2 separate regions of the Homo sapiens genome follow, and region 2 is linked to region 1. Evidence: promoter capture Hi-C in 16 types of primary human blood cells and fetal thymus (Javierre and others, 2016). All regions are on one chromosome and are shown on one strand. The core of a region is centred on a gene start or on the middle of the fragment in contact, and the rest is flanking DNA. Distances in the headings are between cores, read along the strand shown. Region 1 holds the start of SMCO3 (single-pass membrane protein with coiled-coil domains 3). Region 2 has its middle 140 kb from the start of ATF7IP.

Region 1 (7,232 bases), core at 2,264-4,763:
ACCATGGAATACCATGCAGCCATAAAAAGGAATGAGATCATGTCCTTTGCAGGGACATGGATGAAGCCAGAAGCCATCATCCTCAGCAAACTAACACAGGAACAGAAAACCAAACACCACGTGTTCTCACTCATAAGTGGGAGTTGAACAATAAGAACACATGAACACAGAGAAGGGAACAACACACACCAGGGCCAGTTGAGGAGTGGGGGGCGAGGGGAGGGAACTTAAAGGATGGGTCAATAGGTGCAGCAAACCACCATGGCACATGTATACCTGTGTAACAAACCTGCACATTCTGCACATGTATCCTCCCTTTTGTTTTGGAAGAAATAAATAAAAACAAAAAACAAAGAAAGAACAACAACAAAAAAAGAAAGTTTAGGGTTTTTCAATGAATGGTGCTGGAAAAGCCTGATACCCATATGCAAAAACATAAACCTTGATTTTATGTCATACCATACACATACATAAATTAACTCAAAATGGGACATGAAAAATATAAAACCATAAAACAGAAGAAAATACAGAAGAAAATCTTGTAACTTTTGGTTAGCTGATTAGTCCTTTGATATGTATGACACCAAAAGCATATCCATTAAAGAAAAAACGATAAATTGGCCGGGCATGGTGGCTCATATATTCTTAGATTTATATTTAAGTATTTTATTTTAGTGTAATCCCAACACTTTGGGAGACTGAGGTAGGCAGATCACTTAAGGCCAGGAGTTGGAGACCAGCCTGCCCAACATGGCAAAACCCCGTCTCTACTAAAAAATACAAAAATTAGCTGGGTGTGGCACACGCCTGTAATCCCAGCTACTCGGGAGGCTGAGGGAGGAGAATTGCTTGAACCTGGGAGGCGGAGGATGCAGTGAGCCAAGATGGCACCACTGCACTCCAGCCTGGGTGACAGAGTGAGACTCTGTCTCAAAAAAAAAAAAAAAAGAGAAAATATAAAGACCTGATCAGCAATTTCAAATGCTGCAAGTATGATAAACACTGTAAATTATTTCTTATGTTTAGTCATTACAATGTCATTGACAATGCTAGAAAAGCAATTTTGCAAGAGGCAGGAATATGTACAGAAGCTAGATTATAAATACTGGAAAATTAATGGAGAAAATGAAGTAGAGGCAATGCATGTACACTACCAAACTGGGAAGTCTAACTGTGAAGAAGAAAGATAAAGGAGGCTATTGGGTCAAAAAGGTGATTATTTTTAGGTTTGCTTGATTTTTTTTTAAGTGCAGCATTCATAAGTGCTGGCAAATTGTTGAAACAATCGTAATTGAATCGGGCAGTTTATTCAGGGTCATGTAATATATGGTTTTTGAGCAGAGATTTTAGGAAAAGAAGGGGATGAGCTTTAGGATAAAAGGGAAAATAAAGCATTCTAAATAAAAGACGATCAAGTGAGAGCTACATGCAGATAAGTTTGGAGATATTATTGCTTTCACTCTCATTTCCCACCACTGTCAATCCAGCAGTGAAACTTGTCAAATCAGCCTTCCTGATTCCCTAAAACCACCCTGACTCCAAGATCTACACTAAGAAAATGTGCCTCCTTCCTAAGGTTCAGTTCTGACTATTGACTTGACGTTAATACTGGCTTTAGTAGTCAAGAAAGATTTAAGAAGTTCAAGTTTTCAACCTGAGAAACTGATTGCAGAAAAAAGAAGTTCAAGTTGATTAGGGGGCTCAGTATGAAGTCAATATTGCTTCTAGTTTTTCTCTGATAATTATTTTGCATTGTTACTGTTTATCCTTAATTTTGGCAACTCCACTTAGGCTGCTATGTGGTAGGAGAGAAAGGAGTGGATGAGTAGGCAATAAATGTTAAGAAGGGTAGAAATAGGAGAGAAACAAACACCTTAGGAACAAGTGGGTTAAATGGTACTCTTCAACAATAGCCTCTTCGGAAACAAAATGCAACTGTTTTAAGACAGGGTAAAAGACAGACATATTTTGTCCACATACTGTAGGCAATGGGGTTGGTAACTTATGCTTTATTGTCCATACCTACTAATCAAGTTTACATAATGTACCCTTCCTGAAATCCAAATCTCCAAATATTACACCATAATTAAAAGGATTTTTTAATGGTTCATTATTATCTACAGAATGAAATACAATTTCCTAGCATGACATCTAAGGCTATCTACAAACTATTTTCAATTTTCCATGACTTACCTTCCCTTAACTGCTCCCACTTACACCCTGTATCACCAGCAGGTTGGTTTTTGTTCCCTGAAAATGTTCTACAATTTTTGGTTCAGCTCCTTTGCTCTCAGTGTTCCCTCTATCTGTATTATTTCCTCTATACCACCATCCTCCCCAAACATCTATTAAAATCCTACTTAACATCCATACCTAGTTCAGATACACTGGCCACACATCCGTACGTGGTGGGGCCCTGGATACATCAAGGGCAAGATGATCCACTGGGACAAAAGTAGAAAAGTGACCCCACTTAGCCCTTCTTTAGAATCACAGGGCAGCATCTTTAGATTTTAAAGTTTCCTGTCTGCCTGTCTGGCATTTTGATTCTGTATCCTGTACCCACCCATTCTCCTCTCCCCTCCACCAGGAGATACTGTTGTTAATATATGAATAGCTACCGTTTCATAAGATTTTGCCACATATCAGCCACTATGCCAATTACTTTATAAACACTATCCCATTTAATCCATAAATTATTAACTAATACTCATATTACACCAATGGGAAAACTCAGGCTAAGTGACTTTCTTAGGATTACATGACTAGTAAGTGGTACTTGGAGTACACAAAACCAGGACTGTCTGAGTGTAAAGCCTGCTGTCTTTCACTAAGTTACACTGGGGCTGAGTGATTTCCCTGCCACTCAGGTGTCTTTGCTGTGGAGGAATTAACGGGTCTGAAGACTGAAGCTGGGAAGAAGCAGCAGGGAAGACTGATCTGAGCTTTCAGGGAAAAGAGTGAAGTTGGACTTTAAGGTTTTTATATTGTCAAGACAATTTACAAACACAGGAAGAGAAAGAATGACAAAGAGGAGAACTCCTAGCTGGAAAGAAGAGAAAAAAAAATTGGATGCAAGTAACTGCATTTATATATCTTGAGAATTTAAATAATCAGCAACAGTTAGAGGTGCAAATGCAACAGAAGCTAAAAGAAACTTAGTATCTGGAATAGTTGACAAGATAAAACCCCAAAATCTGAGAGCTGCAATCAAAGAGCCATCTTCTCTACTAAATTGAATTAGCTCAGTTATATAGCGCTTCTCAACAATAAAAAGTCCATTAAAGAACAGAAATTTAAAAATAAGTTTTACACACTATTAGTCTTCCAGTTTATATAACTTAATACTGTATACTAAGTTTTTATTAATAGGAAATGAAGGAATTCTGAGGGCCAAGCCATGTAGAAATAGCCTATAAACCAGACAGGCAGAGGGACCCAGCAGAGACTAGCAAAGTCTGTAAGTCATCACATTCCATCAGAAATATCCAGATGAAACCAGATGAAAAAGCACTTTAACAATACTCCTAAACAACTGCTAGGACCACGGAACTCAGAAACACAGCAAGGTAAGCAACGTGGATATTTCTATTAGTATTGATATAATACTCTGTTTCTCAGTAGTAGGAGGAATTTGAATTAGCCCGTCAGTCTTGAATCCTAACCATAAATAAAATAAAGTAAAAAAACAGCTTTGTTATAAGAGGATCCCATGACATGTTCCTTGTGATTTGGAAGGAACCTTTCCTGGTGCCTTCTCTGAAGACAGCAGAGAAGGAAGAAAATTAACAATTTCTAGGACTGATTAAGTCAGAGTGGAAGAGAAGCAGTAAAGACATCAATTCTAAGAAGGATTAAGGATGAAATGATACCTGTGTGAATGTGTGAAGTTTACATGGATAGTAACATTTCCTTCTATGTCATTAATATTAATATAGGCACTCAGTACCTATCTATGAAAGAATGAATGTGGAATCTAATACTGGTTAATGTATAGTACTTATACTCCTTCATAAATTATGTTGTATCTAAATATCTCTGAGCATTTGCTGTGTGTCTCCAAACAGGCTGTTATCGTCTTGAGGGCAAGGAACATTGTCGTTTTCAAATGCCTCAAGGGACACAGTAGAGGCTTCACCAGTGAGCACTTGATAAATGCTGATGAATGACTTTAATATTCTTCTTTCTGGTCAGAAACATTTTTTAAATGAATTTATATCAGAAAGTATATCATCACATCATGATCAATTTTTGTTTTAATTAAAGGCCACAGATTTTTATTTGAATTAAAGGAGACTCAGAACTAGTTAGAAGCTGTTATTTTCTTCTGAAAAGCTCCTGATTTTACCTATACCCTATTTCCACACTCCCAGATAAGGAAACTGTGCATGATGGCAAAACCCTGTTTGGACAGTGAAGAAAAGTGACAGCAAGAAGAAATGTAAAACCTCAGAGAGCACTAACGACTAAACATCAGAGGTTTAGACAGGGTCACGTTTTTCTTTTTCTTTCTTTTTTATTTGTTATAAGAAAAGTTCAAACATACACAGAAGTAGAGACAATAATATAATAAACTCCCATGTACCCATAACTCAGCTTTAAAAATTATCAAAACAAGGCCAATCTTTTTTCCTCTATAACCCTACCCCACTATTCTTTCCAGATTATTTGTGAACAAATCTCTGAGACCATTTCATTTCATCTTAAATGTTTTCAGTATGTATTTCCAAATAGGCAAGAACTTCTCTTTTTGAAATTTAACCTTACTCTTCCCAAATCAACAATATTTAAACAGGACCATCTTTGACTGGGAAATATACCAGCACTATGCTCAGTATCTGGGTGACAGGATCATTCACAGTAAACCTCAGCAACACACAGTATAGTCAGGGAACAAACCTGTGTATGTACCTCCTGAATCTAAAATAAAAATTGTAAAAATTTTATAGCAGGATACCCAGTATCCTGCTATAAAAATTTATTTGGGGTAGCACAGTAAAAGCTTTTGGAATGCAATTTACGATACATATCAAAAGTAATAAAAATTTAATTCCCATTACTTATGCCACTAATTATGTAATTCTTCTAGGTACTTATGCTGAGGAAATAATCCAGATAATGGAGGAAAAAAAATCTGTGGGTATCAAAATGCTCATTAGAATATTAGTGATAGTGAAACAATTTTAGATTTATTGAACCAGGGTAAAGACAGGGAATAGTATACGTAACCAATAAAATTTTTTTTTTTTTTGAGACGGAGTCTCCCTCTGTCACCCAGGCCGGCGTGCAGTGGCACAATCTCGGCTCACTGCAAGCTCTGCCTCCCAGGCTCATGCCATTCTCCTGCCTCAGCCTCCCAAGTAGCTGGGACTACAGGCGCCCGCCACCGCGCCCGGCTAATTTTTTGTATTTTTAGTAGAGACGGGGTTTCACCGTGTTAGCCAGGATGGTTTCGATCTCCTGACCTCGTGATCCGCCCGCCTCGGCCTCCCAAAGTGCTCGGATTACAGGCGTGAGCCACCACGCCCGGCCAAATATTTTTAAAGCTATAAATAGGGGAAAGTGTTAAGTGAATAAAAGATGAATTTTATTTATACTATTATGATAACTTTGTGAAGATACTTATGCATATAAACAAATTTTGAAAAAGAATAACAAAAATCAAAAGTGAAATGGTAGGTTTATGGGTGTTTTTCCTCCTCTATTTAAAAAAGTGTATATGTTACTGGTAATAAGTATATATTTAAAAATCGTTTTACCAAACCGTTCACTTTTAATTTCTCCATAATGTACCATCTATCAAAGTATAAATCATATATTGCATTCTCCATGAAGCTTTCTCTAATCACCTTGATATTAATTTCTAAGTTCAACAGCACTTGACAGTCAACGCACTACTGTTATTCACGAAAGTACCCTGAAGAGTTGTATTTGAACATATGATGATCAGTACATTTTCATTTTGTAAGGTAGTTCCTTTTCTGAAAAACTAAAACAACTGTATGATGTCATTAAATAAAACTTAACTTTTAGACACAATTATCAGCATATTTCTACCATATCTTAGATGCCCTTTAATCTTAAATGTTGACTTCTCAATTCAAAAAAATTAACAAGGTTAGGTGCAGTAAGCATCCATCTCAAGCTAACCTTTGTCTCCATTTTCATTTCTTAAGGTGTGCTGACCAATGACATCAGCACTTTCAGATGTTTTTTGTCATTTTTTAATAAAATAACAAGTCAAAAATTTCCAAACTTTGTTTTAGCAACAGAACTCTCTCATCAAATAAAATTTTACCTACCCAGAGCCCAAATGTGTAGAGCAAGAGAAAGCACAGCTGCTCCAGTCCAGCAAAGGCCCAGGTGAAAAATGGGAGACCCAGAGACCAAGAGCTCCACCTGCTGTCTAGCAATTCCCAATGGGCTGCTCCAGGGCACTACAGAACCCATTTCATGGATAACTACAAGAAAATATTCAAATAATAGCACAAACTCTGTACAAAAGTGGATGGTAATTCCCCAAGTGGAACTTTTCACCAACAGGAAGCACCATCATGTGACAATTCAAATTATGTAAAAGTTCAAACTTACCATACAATAGGTGTAGTTAATTAGAGCTGGATTAAATATACCACTTGCTGTTGGTGCTACAATCTTTGAAAGTGACAGGTCATCAATGAAAATGGAATAAGATGGAGAAAGTATATGGCTCAGAACTCCTCTCGGGCACAATATTATGGGTTGTTTGTAAAATATCACTTGAAGCTTGCCTGAGTAACAACTACGATCTTTAAGAAGGGTGACTCCAAATAATTGCAGGGCTTTTGTTTTGCTGAGTGGAGTAATCACTTTGGGAGTCAGAACTAAATTGTTAAGGGCAATAGCGAAAATACTGCACACTGCCAACTATGGTTCTCCATGTGGTGCCCAGCCTCTCCTCAACTGTCAAGCACATATCTAAGAATACTTGAAAGGTTACAAATTGTTAACCTTACTAGATGACTAAATGTCTCCACATGGCCACAGTGCCAATATATTATATATTAAAGTGTGGGTTGTTTAAAACAAATTTGCACAAGTCAAATACCAAGTGTACCTTTAATTTTGTACGACATATTACTTTCAACTTGATATTACAGTTATAAATCTGTCTTAACTTCCTAACTAGATTAGAAATTCCAAAAAAGCAAGGACCATGTCTTTTTCATCTTTGTATGCTTTGCAGAGTGGTG
Region 2 (7,232 bases), core at 3,514-6,013, 590 kb after region 1:
CTTGGGTTAGATTATGGCAGAAAACAAGAAAATTGACATTGACACCTAAGGAAAGACCATGAAAGTATACTGCTGACTCTACCAGGTGAAGGCAAACTGTTCCTGTGATCCTTACACATTGTTATTACAGAAATAAACATATAACACTGCAGAATAGACGCCACAGGCTGTATTGATTCACTCCACTAAAGAAACCATATCTGAAACAGTAGCTGCAACTGAACTCACCACCTAATTTATTTTATGATAATCTATAGTCAGTCTCCATGATACCTCTGCCTTCTGACATGTCATATAAGCAAGTTAAATGGTAATGTAATAGGAATCACTACCTTAGAATCTCAAGTTTTTGATAGTAACACTAATCTCTGCTATTCCTCCAAAGAATTTTAAAGTATAATAAAATACAATTAGTTAGAAATAATTATGTAGAGTATAATGGTGATTTACATATATATGTTTTTATGCATATATATATAACTAACGTATATATTACACTATTAAAATGGTTTTTATTGGCCAGGAGTGGTGGCTCACACTTGTAATCCCAGCTCTTAGGGAGGCAGAGGCAGGAGGATAGCTTGAGCTCAAGAGTTCGAGACCTGCCTGGGCAATATAGTGAGATCCTGTTCTAAAAAAAAAAAAAGTTTTTATTTGGTCATGGAATTATGTTTAATATTTTTTACTTTTGTACTTTTAAATATTTCATTTCTTGCAATGAACATATATTCCTTTACAGTCATAAAAAAAATCTAGTTTGGGCGGGGCGCCATGGCTCACGCCTGTAATCCCAGCACTTTGGGAGGCGGGTGGATCACCTGAGGTCGGGAGTTCGAGACCAGCCTGACCAACATGGAGAAACCTCGACTCTGCTAAAAATACAAAATTAGCTGGGTGTGGTGGTGCATGCCTGTAATCCTAGCTACTCAGGAGGCTGAGGCAGGAGAATCACTTGAACCTGGGAGGCAGAGGTTACGGTGAGCCGAGATCACGCCATTGCACTCCTGCCTGGGCAACAAGAGCAAAACTTCGCCTCAAAAAAAAAAAAAATCTAGTTTGTTTTTTATGTGAATCACTTTTATTTTTAAACTTTTTGTAGAAGCCAGCTGTGGTGGCTCAAGCCTGTAATCCCAGCACTTTGGGAGGCCGAGGTCGGTGGGTCGCTTGATCTCAGGAGTTTGAGATCATCCTGGGCAACATGGTGAAACCCCATCTCTACAAAAAATCCAAAAATTAGCCAGAAATGGTGGCTCGTGCCTGTAATCCCAGCTACTTGGGGGGCTGAGGCGGCAGGATTGCTTGAGCCCAGGAGGCGGAGGTTGCAGTGAGTTGAGACTGTACCACTGCACTCCAGCCTGGGCAGGCAGAGTGGAAACCCTGTCTCAAAAAACAAAACAAAACCCAACTTTTTGTAGATATGAGGTCTATGTTGCCCAGACTTGTCTCAAACTCCTGGTCTCAAGTGATTCTCCTGCCTCAGCCTCCCAAAGTGCTGGGATTATAGAAGTGAGCCACTGTCTCTGGCCTGAATCACTGTTAAAGTCAGAAAACTAAATTTAACTAGATGAGGGTCTATAAATGTAATCCTGAGAATAGTTGTACCAAAACTAACCTCAGCAGATTTAAATGTTTGAATCAAAAGTCACTACACCAATTTCACAACAATTTCAAATAGCTCATTATTCTTATTTTATTCTTTAATTAAATATTTGAATTAACACACATTTGGTCTTTATCATTTTACATATATTTTCAAACAGAATCCTCAAAGCTTTAACTTTTAAGTGAAAGAAAATTAATTAATGGTACATGATTTTTATAAATGCTTCCCATACTAGTGTTAATAGTGTATGAAATACATAACATTAAACTAACTAGACAATTCAGTACTGTTGCGTTTAACCACTGTGTTATTAAGATAGAGGAAGGGCTGGGCGTGGTGGCTCACGCCTGTAATCCCAGCACTTTGGGAGGCCGAGGCGAGTGTATCATGAGGTCAGGAGATTGAGACTATCCTGGCTAACACGGTGAAACCCCGTCTCTACTAAAAATAAAAAAAAATTAGCCAGACGTGGTGGCGGGCACCTATAGTCCCAGCTAGTAGGGAGGCTGAGGCAGGAGAATGGCGTGAACCTGGGAGGCGGAGCTTGCAGTGAGCCGAGATCACGCCACTGCACTCCAGCTTGGGCGACAGAGCGACTCTGTCTCAAAAAAACAAAAAAACAAAAATATTTTGTGAAGACATACCAAGTATGGTGTCCAGACCCTACTTCAGTGAAGGAATTGTTTTCCCAACTACTGGGAGTGCTACGAGGGGAAAGCCTTCAGCTAGCAGTGTCTTCAGGGACTGCATCAGCTTCCTGTGTGACTAAGGTGGGGCACCCTTACCAGGACAGCCTACATCCAGTGATCAAGGTGGAGGTATAAAGGCCTGGCTGTTTTAGTCCACTGTGGGACAACTCTGCCAATTCAGCTTCCTTTTAAGAAAATTAAGCTAGGGTCAGGCGTGGTGGCTCACGCCTGTAATCCCAGCACTTTGGGAGGCCAAGGCGAGTGGATCACGAGGTCAGGAGATCGAGACCACACTAGCTAACACGTTTAAACCCCATCTCTACTAAAAATACAAAAAATTAGCTGGACATGGTGGCGGGCACCTGTAATCCCAGCTACTCGGGAGGCTGAGGCAGGAGAATGGCATGAACCTGGAAGGCGGAGCTTGCAGTGAGCTGAGATTGCGCCACTGCACTCCAGCCTGGGAGGCAGGGATACTGTCTCAAAAAAAAAAAAAAAAAAAAAGAAAATTCATCTGGGATTTTTTTTTCTTTTCTTTCTTGAGACAGAGTCTCGCTCTGTTGCCCAGGCTGAAGTGCAGCGGCGCAATCTTGGCTCACTTCAACCTTGGCCTCCTGGGTTCAAGCGATTCTGCTGCCTCAGCCTCCTGAGTAGCTGGGATTACAGGGGCCTGCCACTGTGCCCAGCTAATTTTTTTGTATTTTTAGTAGAGATGGGGTTTCACCATGTTGGCCAGGCTGGTCTTGAACTCCTGACCTCAAGTGATCTGCCCACCTCGGCCTTCCAAAGTGCTGGGATTACAGGCGTGAACCACCACGCCCTGCCCTTTTTTCTTTTTTCTTTTCTTTTATTTTTTTTGACGGAGTCTTGCTCTGTCACCCAGGCAGGAGTGCAGTAGTGCAATCTCGGCTGGCTGAAAGCTCCGCCTCCCGGGTTCATGCCATTCTCCTGCCTCAGCCTTCCGAGTAGCTGGGACTACAGACGCCCGCCACCACGCCCAGCTAACTTTTTGTATTTTTAGCAGAGACGGGGTTTCACCATGTTAGCCAGGATGGTCTTGATCTCCTGACCTTGTGATTGCCTGCCTTGGCCTCCCAAAGTGCTTGAGATTATAGCCTTCTGTTTTTTTTTGTTTTTTTTTTTTTTTTTTTTTTTGAGCCAAGATATGGCTGTGTTGCCCAGGCTGGAATGCAGTGGAATGAACCCGGCTCACTGCAACCTCCTGGGCTCAAGTGATCCTCCCACCTCAGCCTCCTGAGTAGCTAGGACTACAGGCACCTACCACCACTCCCAGCTATTTTTTTTTTTTTTGTATTTTTTGTAGAGATGGGGTTTTGCCATGTTGCCCACACTGGTCTTGAACTCCTTGTCTCAATCGATCTGCCTTCCTTGGTGTGAGTCACTGTACCAGGCTGGGATTCTTTTTTTTTTTTTATGGCAGCAAGATTTAGTAAAGCGAAAGGGAAAGTAAAGGGAACGCAAAAGTAAAGCTTCCATGTGGTGGAAGGGGACCCAGAAGGATTGTGTTTTTTGGCTTGGGTGTCTTATGCTTATATCCCCTTATGACTCCTCCCCTTTTCTTTTTCTGTCCTATAGGATTGGCTAATTTTCTATCCACTTGTGGGTTGGCAGACCTGATTGGTTAAAAACATCAGGCTGCAGCTAGAGCTTGAACTCCCTATATGATTGGTTGAAGTTTCAATCCCTTAGTTTGTAGCTGTGACTCATTTTGGCTTAGGGGAAAGTCCCCTTTGATTGGTTGAAGTTTCAATCCCTTTAGCTTGCAGCTATGACTAATTTTGGCTTAGGGGAAAATCCCCTTTGATTGGTTGAAGTTTTAATCTCTTAGCTTGCAGCTATGACTCATTTTGGCTTAGGGGAAAGTCACTTTAGGGAAGTCCCTATTGACCCAGGAAGTCCAGCCAATTTAGCCACTTAGTCCCTCAGTCCCCCCTTTCAACAGGAAAGCCCAAGTGCTGTTGGGAAGTTGGATGACGATTGTTCTAGCTACTTCCTGCTGAACTGGGGGGTAGAAGGGGCACTGCAGTTGAGGTTTCCTCAGGAGGGGAGTCTTTGGTGTCGTGGTGTGAGAACAGGTTGGTGGGTGGGTCTAGGGGTGCTTGATAGTAGGTGCTAGTGGTGGTCACTTGGGGCTCCATTTGTAGAACCATTTGCAGCTTCATGGATTCTATTCTGGAAGAGGCAAATTTTACAAGGAGGTTAAAAATGCAGGGTCCAAAGATAAGCAACATCACAATAGCCACCAAGGGCCCCAAGAAGGGGAGAAGCCAGGGCATCCATTGATTGACAATATTCCAAGGTCCTGTGTCTTGGAGCTCTTGTGCCCAGCACTGTATCCCATCTCAAAACTCCTTAACCTTCTTGGTGACAATTCTGGATTGATTAACGAAATAGCAGCACTCTTCTAGAAAAAGAGGTTCCACCTCTTTCAGCTGTTAATAAATCTAAGGCTGTCCGATTTTGAAGGGCTACTGTTGCTAAAGAATTAAGCTGGCTTTGTAAGGTGACCAGCGAATCTGCGATTCATGCCATGTCATCATTTAACTCTTGTGATAATTTGTAATAGAATTGGATGGAGGTTGTAATGCCTCCAATGCCGGTTCCTAGTCCTCCTCGTATCCCAGCTCCTATAATGAATGGTAGGACAGTCCAGGTCAGCTGAGACCCTGGGTTTGACGGATCTTTAAAGGCAAATAAAAATTGAGAGTCAGGATGCAGAGGGATGCAGAAGAAAGTGTCCTTAAGATCTAGGACTGTAAACCATTCTGCTTCCTCTGGTTTCTAGGAGAGTAGAGTATAAGGATTAGGTACAACTGGATACAGAGGAACAACTGCCTCATTGATAATTCTGAGGTCTTGCACTAACCTCCATTGTCCGTTGGGGTTTTGTATGCCTAGAATACGAGTGTTGCATGGACTGTTGCATGGTTTTACTAATCCCTGTGCTTTTAGGTCTTTGACGATCTTTTGTAATCCTTGTTGGGCTTCTGGTCTGAGGGGGTACTGCCTTTGATAAGGAAAGGAGGTAGGATCCTTTAATTTAACTTGAACTGGACAAGCATTTTTTGCTCATCTGTATTGTCCTTCCTCTGCCCAGACATCAGGATTAACTCCCTCCACGAGTAGAGGGCAGCAAACAGGTATTTCTTCTTCTATATTCAAGTTTATTATGGCCCCTCCTTTAGCTAATATGTCCCTCCCTAGTAAAGGAGTAGAGCTCTCAGGCATGATAAGAAAGGCATGTGAGAAAAATAAGGCTCCTCAGTCACAATTTAGAAGGTGGGAGAAATACCTAGTGACTGGCTGTCCTAGGACCCCTTTGATGGTGACAGACCTGGAGGATAGTTGTCCGGGACAGAAGACTAAAACTGAGAAGGCTGTGCCAGTGTCCAGGAGGAAGTTAGTTTCCTGGCCCTTAATGGTTAAGCTTACCTGGGGCTCTGTGAGGGTGATGGCACGGGCTGGCGCCTGCCATGGGTACCCTCAGTCCTGTTGTTGGACCATCAGGTTAGTGGCCTCTGGCCCAGAGGACCTTCACCCTCAGAGGTAGTGTGCCTTCCAGTGATCCCCCTGGCACAAGGGACATGGACAAGGGGGTGGCTTATTTTTGTTTGGGCAGTCCTTTTTGAAGTGCCCCTGTAAGCCGCACTGATAACAAGCCCTGTTAGGCTGGTTGCCTGCCCAGCCCTTCTTTCTTTCAGAGCCACCGAAGTTCGTCTGCCTGAGGGCCATAACTAAGGCGGGGCCATGAGTAAGGTGGCGGCCTTTTTCTTGTCTCCTCTGTCTCATTCAGCCTGCTCCTCCTGATCCCTATTATAAAACACTGAAGTTGCCAAATTCAATAGAGTTTCCAAATTTTTCTTGGGGCCTGGGGCAGACTTTTGAAGGTTTTTTCTAATGTCTGCAGCTGACTGAGTGATAAACTTATCCTTTAAAATTAGTTGGCCTTCAATAGAGTCAGGTGACAAGGAGGTATGCTTTCTTAATGCCTCTCTTAGTCTCTCTAAAAATGCTGTAGGGTTTTCTTCCTTTCCCTTCATTGTGGTTGACATCATTATGTAATTCATTGGCTTTTTTCTGGTCTTTCTTAATCCCTCTAGTATACAAGTCAGTAAATGGCTGTGCTCCAAACTGAGGTCCCAGTGGGGATCCACACTGGGAACCGCCTGTTGGCCTGTAGGGAATTGTTCCCTTTCTTCTGATCTCATTTTATCATTTACCTGGCTTAGGTACCAGAGATCCCCAAACTCCCGGGATGCAGCTAAGGTGGCCTCTTCTTTGTTGGGAGTTAATGCTTGACCTAACAACAACAACATATTTCTCCATGCTAAATCAAAAGATTGTCCTAATCCCTGTAAGATATCTATGCGTCAATCAGGATTATCTGAGAATTTTCCTAGGTCCAGTTTGATCTGTTTTAAGTCTGAGAGGGAAAAGGGGACATGTACTTGCACTGGGCCAAAGTCTCCTTCTCCTCCCACGACTTGGAGGGGGCACAATTGAGGGCCATTGGCGCCTTTTGGTTCCTTGACTTTTTGTCTGGTTCCTTTTGGGCCATAAGGGCCACAGGAGAGTCCTTACTAGTTGGAGGGGGAGCTATGGGGAGACCTGAGTATGGGGGTAGGCTTTGAGGACCCCCAGTAGGATGTAAATTACATTTTTTTTTACATAATTGTGGGTTATCCCTTAGTGAGAAAAAAAACCTATACATATGGCACTTCACTCCATTTGCCCTCTCATTTACAAAAGAGATCTAGCTGTAGGATGGTATTATAGTTTATACTTCCCTGGGTGGCCGTGTCTCTCCTCTGGGAAGAGGATATTGTGGCCAGGTGGTGCTGCAGAAAAATATAAGTCGCTTCTTCTTCAGTGTTTGAGGGTCAAATTGGTCCTAATTATCCAGAATACACCTCAGGGGT

What was found. The method cuts DNA at HindIII sites, captures the fragments that hold promoters and counts their contacts. A CHiCAGO score of 5 or more calls a contact.
Region 2: a contact is called between a fragment that was not itself captured here and the fragment with the promoter of SMCO3 in region 1, in 1 of 17 cell types (neutrophils). The highest score is 5.8, in neutrophils.

What each region holds. Positions count from the first base shown.
Region 1 is chr12:14,810,463-14,817,694 of GRCh38, reverse strand. SMCO3 (single-pass membrane protein with coiled-coil domains 3) reads left to right here and starts at 3,513. Exons shown (of 2, transcript NM_001013698.2): 1 at 3,513-3,569. All of the region lies in intron 1 of C12orf60 (chromosome 12 open reading frame 60), which reads right to left. The HindIII fragment of the contact is 14,101 bases long and covers 1-5,004 here.
Region 2 is chr12:14,218,115-14,225,346 of GRCh38, reverse strand. No RefSeq gene overlaps it. Among named protein-coding and RNA genes, the nearest start is that of ATF7IP, 140 kb to the left of the region's middle. RefSeq lists enhancers at 3,980-4,279, 4,121-5,320. The HindIII fragment of the contact is 1,958 bases long and covers 3,785-5,742 here.